Linked DNA regions of Homo sapiens: region 2 is linked to region 1. The links are contacts of gene promoters, found by promoter capture Hi-C in blood cells and fetal thymus (Javierre and others, 2016). All regions are on one chromosome and are shown on one strand. The core of a region is centred on a gene start or on the middle of the fragment in contact, and the rest is flanking DNA. Distances in the headings are between cores, read along the strand shown. Region 1 holds the start of VTA1 (vesicle trafficking 1). Region 2 has its middle 6.2 kb from the start of CITED2.

Region 1 (4,812 bases), core at 1,613-4,112:
GAAACTATCAGAAATGGCCAGGCCAATATGAAAACCAAAAGAGAACACTAAAATAAAAAATTAAAGTAGAAATTCAATAAAAGGGTTAAACAATAAAATATAGGGAGGTGAAGATAAACCTCAAGAAATTACACAGAATGCAGCACAGAAAGACAAAGAGATAAAAAAAAATGACAGAATCAAGAGACAAGGAAGTTAAATGGGAGAAGTGCAAAACATGTCTAATCAAACTTTTATGAGAGAATAGAAATATAAGCAATATTTGAACAAATAATAGTAGAGAAAATTTTCCAAAATTGATTAAAAACACCCATCTACAGATGTAGAAAGCCAAAGTCCCAAACAAATACACGAAAAGAAATGAAAGCCTATAAAATCAGAAGGTTAAGTCCTAAGAGATTCATACAATGATTGATAACATTTTTAAATTAAGAACTTCTGAACATCAAAGGTCTTCAGAGTGAAAAATCAAACTGAAATGGGAGAAGATATTTACAACACATATAACAAAGGATTAACATCTAACATTATTAAGACAAGACTGTGACAGATAAATGGGCAAAAGCAATAAACAAGTATTTCAAAACCGAATCACAAATGGTTAATTAACATATGAAAAGATGCTAAACCTCATTAAGACTCAGAGAATTGCAGATTTCGCTCCAATGAGACACCACCATTTCACACCCACCAGATTGTCAAAAATTAAAAAGTTTAATAACATCAAATGTGATAGGCATATTAGTGTTCATTTTATTATTCCTTAAACTGTCTGCACATTACATATGCTTTTATATGTACATGTTTCATAACTAAAATTGTTAAGTGTCACCTGAGCAATAAAAATATTTCTTCATAAGCCTGATGAGAGCAGTTTCAGTGAAATACTGGGCATGAAAACCAGACTGCATGGGCTGAAAGGCTCTACAAGATAAAGGCGTAAAGCTAACTTATGGACAACTATTTCAAACTTACCTATAAGGCTGGAAAAGCAGAGCTGCAACTTTAGGGAATGATATGGTGAGAGTTTATGTTATATTTTTAAATAAAGGAAACTGGATTAGGTTTAGAAAAATCTAGAGGGAAAGGACGACAGTGAGTAAGGTGTCCCTGGTTTGTCACAAAGATACATGATACAGGGATCGGGAACAGGAATTTCCTTTAGGGATGAGAGATTCTTTGACCTTATCCCATCACTCCCAAGCCCCATCCACTCCAGTCACAATAGTCTACTTACTCCTCCTTCCAGCAAGCCTCTACTTCGGGACTTTTATAACCTCTATGGAGAATACTCTTTCCCAGATGGTGCAAGGTATGCCTTTCACTCTTTTATTTCCCCAAATGTCAATTCAGTGAAGTGTTCCTGACCACTATGAAACTGAAATCCCATCTGCACTCCCTGCCACCACTACTCCTGATACTCTTATTCCTTTTCCTTGCTCTATTTGTCTTCATAAGCTTTTAATACTCTATGTATGATAGACTCTATATTGTTGAAACTCTCTACCTCCATTGTATGTAAGCTCCAAAAATGCAGCAAATGTAGTCACAGCGCCTACTAATGCTTGATACAAAGGTAGCTCAATGAACACATACTGAATGAATATGGACCCTGCTTGAGGAAACTGAAGAACAAGTATAATAAAAATGATGCTGTAAAATTTGAACAAAATGAAGTAATGCACAGAGAATAATCAATTTGCTGCCCACAGAAGTGGTGACATTTGGGTTAGATCTTGAATCATGAGTTTGCCAAGTGCAAGAAAAAGGTGCACATTCCAAGAGAGTGGAAGATGGTAGGTCTGAAAAGGCCTTGCACATTTGAGAAACAGGGTACATTTGGAGTATGGCAGAGATAACAGTGACCAGATTTTAGCTAACCTTACAATATACACAACAATGGACGCATTATATCCAACTTCTCAACTCTAAATATCCTTTTCAGAATTATAATTGTCCAGTTACTTGTTTTATTTGCAGTAAAGTTAAGAGTACAGAATACAAAATAAAGTTAACACAGAATTACTGGCACTCCCTTTACTCACTACAAGTTTGAGCAGAGTTAACCTATATTTTTTTTAATCAAACTGTAAATTCAACGTATAACACTCAAAGTGAAAATACTGCTTTCAAAGGTCTCAACAGCGGGTATTATTCAAAGAAGTCAAAACTAAAAATTCTGCATGGTAGGAGAGAGCAGCTGGGTGGGGAAAGGTCAAATTCAACTGCTTATTTAGTAGCAGATACTCCCCATTTAACCAAATGAGTTTCTGATTGGGCTTGCATGCTGTCATAAATAATATTCACTTATTACTATGTTTTCAACTAGTCTATCGTCCTTTTATCCACATCACTCCTTCTTTCGGACACTCACCTTCGTTTTAAACCTAACTCAATTTATTTTCAGGATTCCTATTTGAGACAAGAAGCTCTTGTGTGTACACACACAGAGAAAACCTTGGAAGATTATATTCCACAGTTCAAGAGCCTGTGTAGTCAGTACTGGAGCATTTAAGCACAAGATAGGAGAAGCAGTGGACACCATGGTGTTTTGGGATTCCTACTGCCAGGGGGTGGGAACCCAGGGAGTTCCCTGGGTAGGCTCGAGGTCAAAGCTCAGGTTTAAAGCGAGGGGGGCGGGGCATGCCCCAAGAACCTCAGGGAGGTGTGTGGGCCCTAAAATGCAACTGGGAAAGAAAGGGCGCGGCCACTCGGAAAGACTCACAGTAATAAGCCACCACAGGGTCTCGCTTGTCATGCTCCTGAGCCGTCCTCAGATGATGCTGTATGCTCTTGAACTGTGCGGGGAGCGGGGGCAGCGGTGCAAGCGCGGCCATCTCTACTCCGAACTCACCACTTCCTACTCGCGCTCCACCGGCACTTCCGCTTCCGTCTGGGCGGTAGCGCGCACGAGCGTTCAGAGCAAATGCTGCCCACTCTTCCGTTGCTCAGCGACGTCAAGTCAACTACGGATCCCCAGCTGGGACAACCTCAGGGTGCTTGGCTCTCGGCGGTTAGAACCCACAGAAGACCCGAGCATTTTGGCGCTTATGCCGCGCATGGCGCTAGCGCTCTCTGCTGGTAGGAGGAAGGGTTTTTGTTTTGTTTTGCTTTTTTGTTTGGTTTGTTGTTTGTGGCAAAAGGAAGGATAGAAAAGGAAAAACAAGAAAATAATGTATGTTGACTGGGAGAAAGTATAAAGGCGAGAATTGCCTTTGGCGTCATTCAGGAATTACCACTTCCAGTTAATATGCCACATTAATATTCCATATAGCAGTGTCCTTTAGAAGCCTTTTTGATTTTAGAAACTTTAATTTCAATACTTGCATGAGAGAGAAATAATGTGTTTAAATTGTAAATTAAATTTTTCTATGTTGACATACTGGATAAAATAATCAGATTTCGCGCCAAATTAAGCTAAACATATGAAGCTTAAAGAAGATTGAACTTTTGTTCTCAGCTGGCTAGTACGTATTTTAGTGAATGAATAATCTGTAGATCACCTTTTTTTTTTCTGGAGAGTGATTAACAATTTGTAAAGTATTTTCATATTTATTATCTTGTCTTAATGTAAGATAGGGTGTTTGGGACGTTTTCAACGCTGGTAACTCTTAACCATTGTACAGTAGGCATCACTTTTCCTTCTACCCTCAATGACTTCAATTCTCTTCCTCTCCTCTCCATCCCTTACTTATATCTTTCAGGACTGTACACTTTATTTACTTCCTCCAATAACCTTCTTTATTTTATCTCAGTCCTCAGTTTTGACAATTCATCTTAAAACTAGTTTTCACTGAAATCACACTATCCCCAAGAGCCAAAATCTCCAGCTCGGAAATTCCCCTCTGCCTACTATTTTCTGATCACTCTCTCACCCCCAGAAGAAACCGCTCCATGTCCTCATATTATCCCACTCCACATACGTTGCCTAGACCTATTTGCAAAGTCCATCATCTTATTCTGGGTCGGGCTTTTTTACTCAGCCTGAAACTCAGTTCTGTCTTCTTCCCCAATCTCAGCGGCATATTTCCTACCACTGGAGAATGTATGGTTTCTTTCTCTTTCTCTTACTCCCACTATTTGGACTTTCCAGTCAAAAGTTGCTAGATTGGTAGAGAAATCAATGAAGAAAAGCAGAGTTGGATAACCATAACTGTTTTCTTTCTATACTCACAACTTTTCATTTATTTGTTTCCTATTACTTCTTGATTCTCAACCGCAGCTGCCCTTAAAGATCAACTTTAAAGCCCACTCCAGGCATTCTCACTTAATTGTTCTAGGTGGGATCCTAAATGTCAGTATCTTTAAAAGGTCCTCATGTAATTTTAATGTTACGTCTAGGGTTAAGGACCAGTGCTGTAGTCCACAGATGGTGTTTCAAACTTCTCTCGCTCTATTCAAGCTAGGCACTCAGCCCCAATTTCCTTGGTCTACAACAGCATTTCCTGCTATTGAGATTAAGGCCACCACCAGATATGAATTATTTTGCCTTGCCTCTACCACAACTTAAAGTAATAATAACTAGCTAGCAGCATTTGCTGAGCATCAACTATGTATCATGCATGTTTCTAGGGTCTTTATATTAATTTATTTAATTTGCACCACAACCCTATGAGGAACATATCATTATTATTTTACAGATGAGAAAAATAAGACACATAGAATCTAGATAACTTGCACTAGGTCACAGCCAGGAAGGATGAGTATTCCACATTAAAATCTAGGTATTTTGGTTTCAGAGCCTGTGCACCTAGCCATTACTACTTGACTATGATGTCTTTCTAGATCTTATGTTTTATCTTTTCTCTATTC
Region 2 (4,812 bases), core at 1,184-3,683, 2.8 Mb after region 1:
ATGGCCACATCACTGCACTCCAGCCTGGACGTCACAGTGAGACCCTATCTCAAAAAAAAAATTATCACAATTATATTTCTCACAGGTTTATTTTATTCAGGACCATTAGTCTTCTATCTTTAAAAAAAAAAAAATCCGTATGTGTAAAAGAATTAAAAGCAACTTAAAGTTGTTAAATAGTGCAACAACCACTCTGACATGAGTATTTAGCTGAGAGAGTAACTACATTACTTAATGCTTGTCATCAGATGTCTACAACCAGCTCTGTGGGCTCACTCAGCACAACTCAGAGACTCTCAAACTTCCATCTTGCTGGGGTTTTTTTGTTTTGTTATTGTTTTGAGACAGGGTTTCGTTCTGTCATCCAGGCTGGAGTGCAGTGGCACAATCACAGCTCATGGCAGCCTCAAGCTCCTGGGCTCAAGTGATCCTCACGCCTCAGCCTCTCAAGTAGCTGGGATTACAAGTGTGTGCCACCATGTCTGGCTAAGTTTAAAATTTCTTTTTTTTTTTTTTTTTGAGATGGAATCTTGCTCTGTCACCAGGCTGGAGTGCAGTGACGTGATCTTGGCTCACTGCAACCTCCGCCTCCTGGATTCAAGTGATTCTCCTGCCTCAGCCTCCCAAGTAGCTGGGACCACAGGTGTGCGCCACCACGCCTGGCTAATTTTGTGTATTTTTAGTAGAGACCAGGTTTCACCATGTTAACCAGGATGGTCTCGATCTCCTGACCTTGTGATCCACCCGCCTCAGCCTCCCAAAGTTCTGAGATTACAGGTGTGAGCCACCGTGCCCAGCCTCAAATTTTTTTTTGTAGAAACAAAGTCTCTCCATGTTGCCCAGGATGGTCTCAAACTCCTGGGCTCAAGCCATCCTCTTGCCTCAGCCTCCCAAAGTGCTGGGATTAAAGACGTGAGCCACTGCACCCAGCCCCAAACTTCCATTTTGAACTGGAAAACTACTTTTAAATGATTTTAATTCCCACTGTTTTAAAAGTAGAAATTGATATAGATTCTATTACTGTCTTCTGCAATCCTATCCACCTATAATATAGAACATCAGCTGGGAAACGCTGATCTAAAAAACCACTCAACACATCTCTATTTCACTTCAGTGAAGTCTTCATAAAGACTTGGTCTGCTCCGATAATCCATACCAGTGTTTTTAAATCCTGATGGTTAGGAAGTCCTTTATGAGCAAGTCACTTAACCTCTCAGGACCTCAGATTTCTCATCTAGAAAAGGAAGGAGTTTGGATAAGATTATTTTTAAAAGTCCTACCCACACTAGAATTCTATGATTTTTATGTATTATCCAAAGCATTAGTTTTCATAACTGTTTAACATCAGAACAATATGTTTTTAAAACAAACAGAAACCCTTAATATATAAAGCACTTAAAAGTGAAGCTGAGAATACACAACATCTACAGAACACAAATTTGGAAACCACTGATCTAAAGCTCTCTTTTTAAAAACGCCTTCCTTTTTTCTTTGTCTCAGTGGAAAAGGAAAACATCTGGAAAGGATCCACCATATTAGTTTTCCTCTATGTAGACCAGAACATATGTATTAAGTCACCTGTCAGCTTTTTCTTCCCCAGATTAAATAGCCATTATAAGTCCCATTTCCCGTCCCTTTAAAAATATATTTCCTTTTTTTTTTTTCAATGAACTTTCTTTGGTTTTGGTAACTCTTTATTAAAAGGTAAAGTTGCAAACTAACCATGATCTCTCAGAAGAGCCCAGTGTAGCAAAAGGATTACTTCCAGCTCTGTCATGTGATTCTCACTCCTGATATACTCCGAGTTGTGTCCTTTTCAATAACAGCATTCCGTGGCTGCCTCTGATTCAACCAATAGCTTAGGAGGACCCGCAGTTTTGTTTTGGTTTGGTTTTTGGCTGAACTTGTTATATCTACTCAATAATTTCCCATCCAATACCCATGTAATTTGTTATTGTCCTCGTGAAGCCTCTGCAGTTTTTCTTATTGAACATAATCTTGTTTTTGATAGAGTGTTTTTCTAATTATTTAAGGTCACTGAATTTTTCTTCTGCTTTCCAACATACCTCATCCAACTTCAAAACCAATGTGAATGTTCTCTAGCTTATTGTTAAAGCTGCAGACTAAGAAAATGCCAATTATCTAAAAAAGAATCTATATGTGACGTGTGTTATATAGGCTGAATTGTACCCCCACCCAAATTCCTCTGCTGACAGCTAACTCCCGGTATCTAAGAATGTAACCATAACTAGAGATAAGGTCTTTAAAGAGGTGATTCAGTTAAAATGAGGACATTAGGGAGGGTCCTAATCCAATCTGACTGATGTCCTCATAAGAAGAGGAAATTTGGACACACGAAAGAGACACCAGGGTTTCCTGTGCACAGAGGAAAGACCATGTGAAGACACACCAGAAGCAGCCATCTGCAAGCCAAGGAGAGGGGTCCTGACACTTTGATCATGGACTTTCAGCCTCCACAACTATGAGGAAATACATTTCTGTTATTTAGGCCTCCCAGGCTGATATTTTGTTATGGCAGCCCTAGCAGCACTAGCAAACTTATACACATGCTCCTGGCTTATGATGGTTTCACAGATGATGTTTTCAACTTATAGAACGGGGTTTATCAGAGCATGACCCCATGGTAAGTCGAGAGGCATCTGTCGAAGGTTGACCTTATTCTGTGCACGACATTTTGCAGCCCCTTGGAGCTCACCTGGGAACCTCTGCCATCACAGAGAAGGTTACAGAAGAATACAAATACCCATAACTCAAGTCAGAATAGGTCAAAAAAGAAGATCTGAGTAAATTGCCCTGGAAGCACCAACGAGCCAGAATTCTTGCCATCTAGGGGATCAGGGGAGGCTAAAAAAGAGGAAATGTCATCTGAGCTGGGCCTTCAAAGACAGGCAAAATTCCAGTCATGGGCGGGAGGCGGAGAGGAAACGGGTGGCAGTCCAGGGAAACTGGACATTATGAGTGTGAACCAGGTTCACAGTACACCCATGAACCCTGTGAGAATGACCCCAGTTGTCATCAACCTATAAACAAGGTTGGCTGTTTGCAAACCTAGCTAAATATCAGAACCAACCGGGAGCTTTTAAAAAATATACAGCTCCTCAGGCCCCACTCCCAGCCTGATGAATCAAGAACTCCAGGAATGACATCCTAAAATATTTATTTTAATCAAATTCTCAAGCGGGATAGTACCAACTTCATCAATTTAAAGACCCTTTAATACAAACATTTCATTGACCTCTACGTGATAATGGCTATATTTCTCTTGAATGAAAAAATACCTAAAGACAGAAAAACTATTATGAGTTTGGTAATAATTTCAAGTGAATTTGTATTTTATGAGTTAGAACCAAGTTTACATGTTTAAAAGTGATATTCACATCTCAGTTTGACATATATACTACATGTAAGACATTATTCAGTTTGCAGATAACACCAGGTTGCATATAGGGCCTCTGTCACTATTAAATCATGTGTTAACAGACTCTCTGGCTACCTCTCTCCTCTTTTCCCTATTCCTCTCCTTCTGAGAAGGTGGCCATGTTTTTCATTGTTTTTATTTTTATTTTTAAAAGATTCTCTGAGACTCAAAGTCCTCCTTACTAAAGTGATGAAAGTAATCCCTACTCCTTACATTGAGGATTAAGTGAGCTTTGGGGTTTTGTTTCATTTTGTTGTTTTGTTTTTTGGGTTTTATTTTTTTTGAGACAAGGTCTTGCTCTGTCACCCAGGCTGGAGTGCAGTGGCACGACCTCGACCTCGACCTGCAGCCTTGACCTCCTGGGCTCAAGTAATGCTCCCACCTCAGCTTCGCGGCTTCCTGAGATGCTGGAACTACAGTCATGCACCACCATGCTCAGCTACTTTTCATATTTTTTGTAGAGTCTGGGGTTTTGCCATATTGCCTAGGCTGGTCTCAAACTTCTGGGCTTAAGCAATTCTCCCACCTCAGCCTCCCAAAGTGCTGGTGATTGTGGGCATGAGTCACTGCCCTCAGCTGAGATAATTTAAATAACGTACAAAATACAGTGCTAAATCTCACCTTCCTCCCTTCCCTAGCTGCACCACACAAGTATGAGGTCTTTCAATATATTTTTTGAAGCTGGGTCCTTCAGTCAGCCTTTTCTCAATTCAGGTTTTAGCTAAAGCCAGAGACTCACCTCTAAAAACTTGTTTCAGTCAAAAGTTCACACCAATGGGGACCTTTGTCCATTACTCAGCAGTCAGTGATGCCCAGGTGAGTCATCTTCCCAAACAGATAACAGTTTTGCCCAAGTGGCTGCCACAATGCAGACAAAGGTAAGCTGCTGTTCTCCTTTTCCACTTGACTTTTCTACCTCCAGCTTTTTTTTGGTAGAAGGGATGAAGGTCTCACTCTATTGCCAAGGCTGGAGTGGAGTAGTGTGATCACAGCTCACTGCAATCTCGAACTCCTGGGCTCAAGCAATCCCCCCGCTTCGGCCTCCCCAGTATCTAGGACTACAGGTATGCACCTCCACACCCAGCTCATTTTCTAATTTTATTTTGTTGAGACAGGATCTCAAGATGTTGCCCAGGTTGGTCTCGAATTCCTGGGCTCAAGTGATCCTCCCACTTCAACCTCCCAAAGTTCTGGGACTACAGGTGTGAGCCACTGCACCTGGCCTACCTCCAGCCTTGAGAGTGACCTTCTCCAGAAAGTCTTCCTTGGCCCCTCATTGGGGTTCCCATAGTGCCAATGCCATATTTTATTCATGCATTCACCCTTCAATTAGTAAAAGTCTAATACCTGCCAGGACTTGTTTCAGACAGTGA

Evidence for each region. Contacts are between HindIII fragments. The CHiCAGO score rates a contact against its expected background, and 5 or more counts as called.
Region 2: a contact is called between a fragment that was not itself captured here and the fragment with the promoter of VTA1 in region 1, in 1 of 17 cell types (total CD8 T cells). The highest score is 7.2, in total CD8 T cells.

What each region holds. Positions count from the first base shown.
Region 1 is chr6:142,145,313-142,150,124 of GRCh38, reverse strand. It overlaps VTA1 (vesicle trafficking 1), which reads right to left and starts at 2,862. Exons shown (of 8, transcript NM_016485.5): 1 at 2,726-2,862. The coding sequence starts at 2,837. NMBR (neuromedin B receptor) reads left to right here and starts at 3,003. Exons shown (of 4, transcript NM_002511.4): 1 at 3,003-3,081. RefSeq lists enhancers at 2,161-2,681, 2,936-3,075, 2,839-3,133. The HindIII fragment of the contact is 1,973 bases long and covers 1,461-3,433 here.
Region 2 is chr6:139,378,403-139,383,214 of GRCh38, reverse strand. No RefSeq gene overlaps it. Among named protein-coding and RNA genes, the nearest start is that of CITED2, 6.2 kb to the right of the region's middle. The HindIII fragment of the contact is 6,226 bases long and covers 1-4,812 here.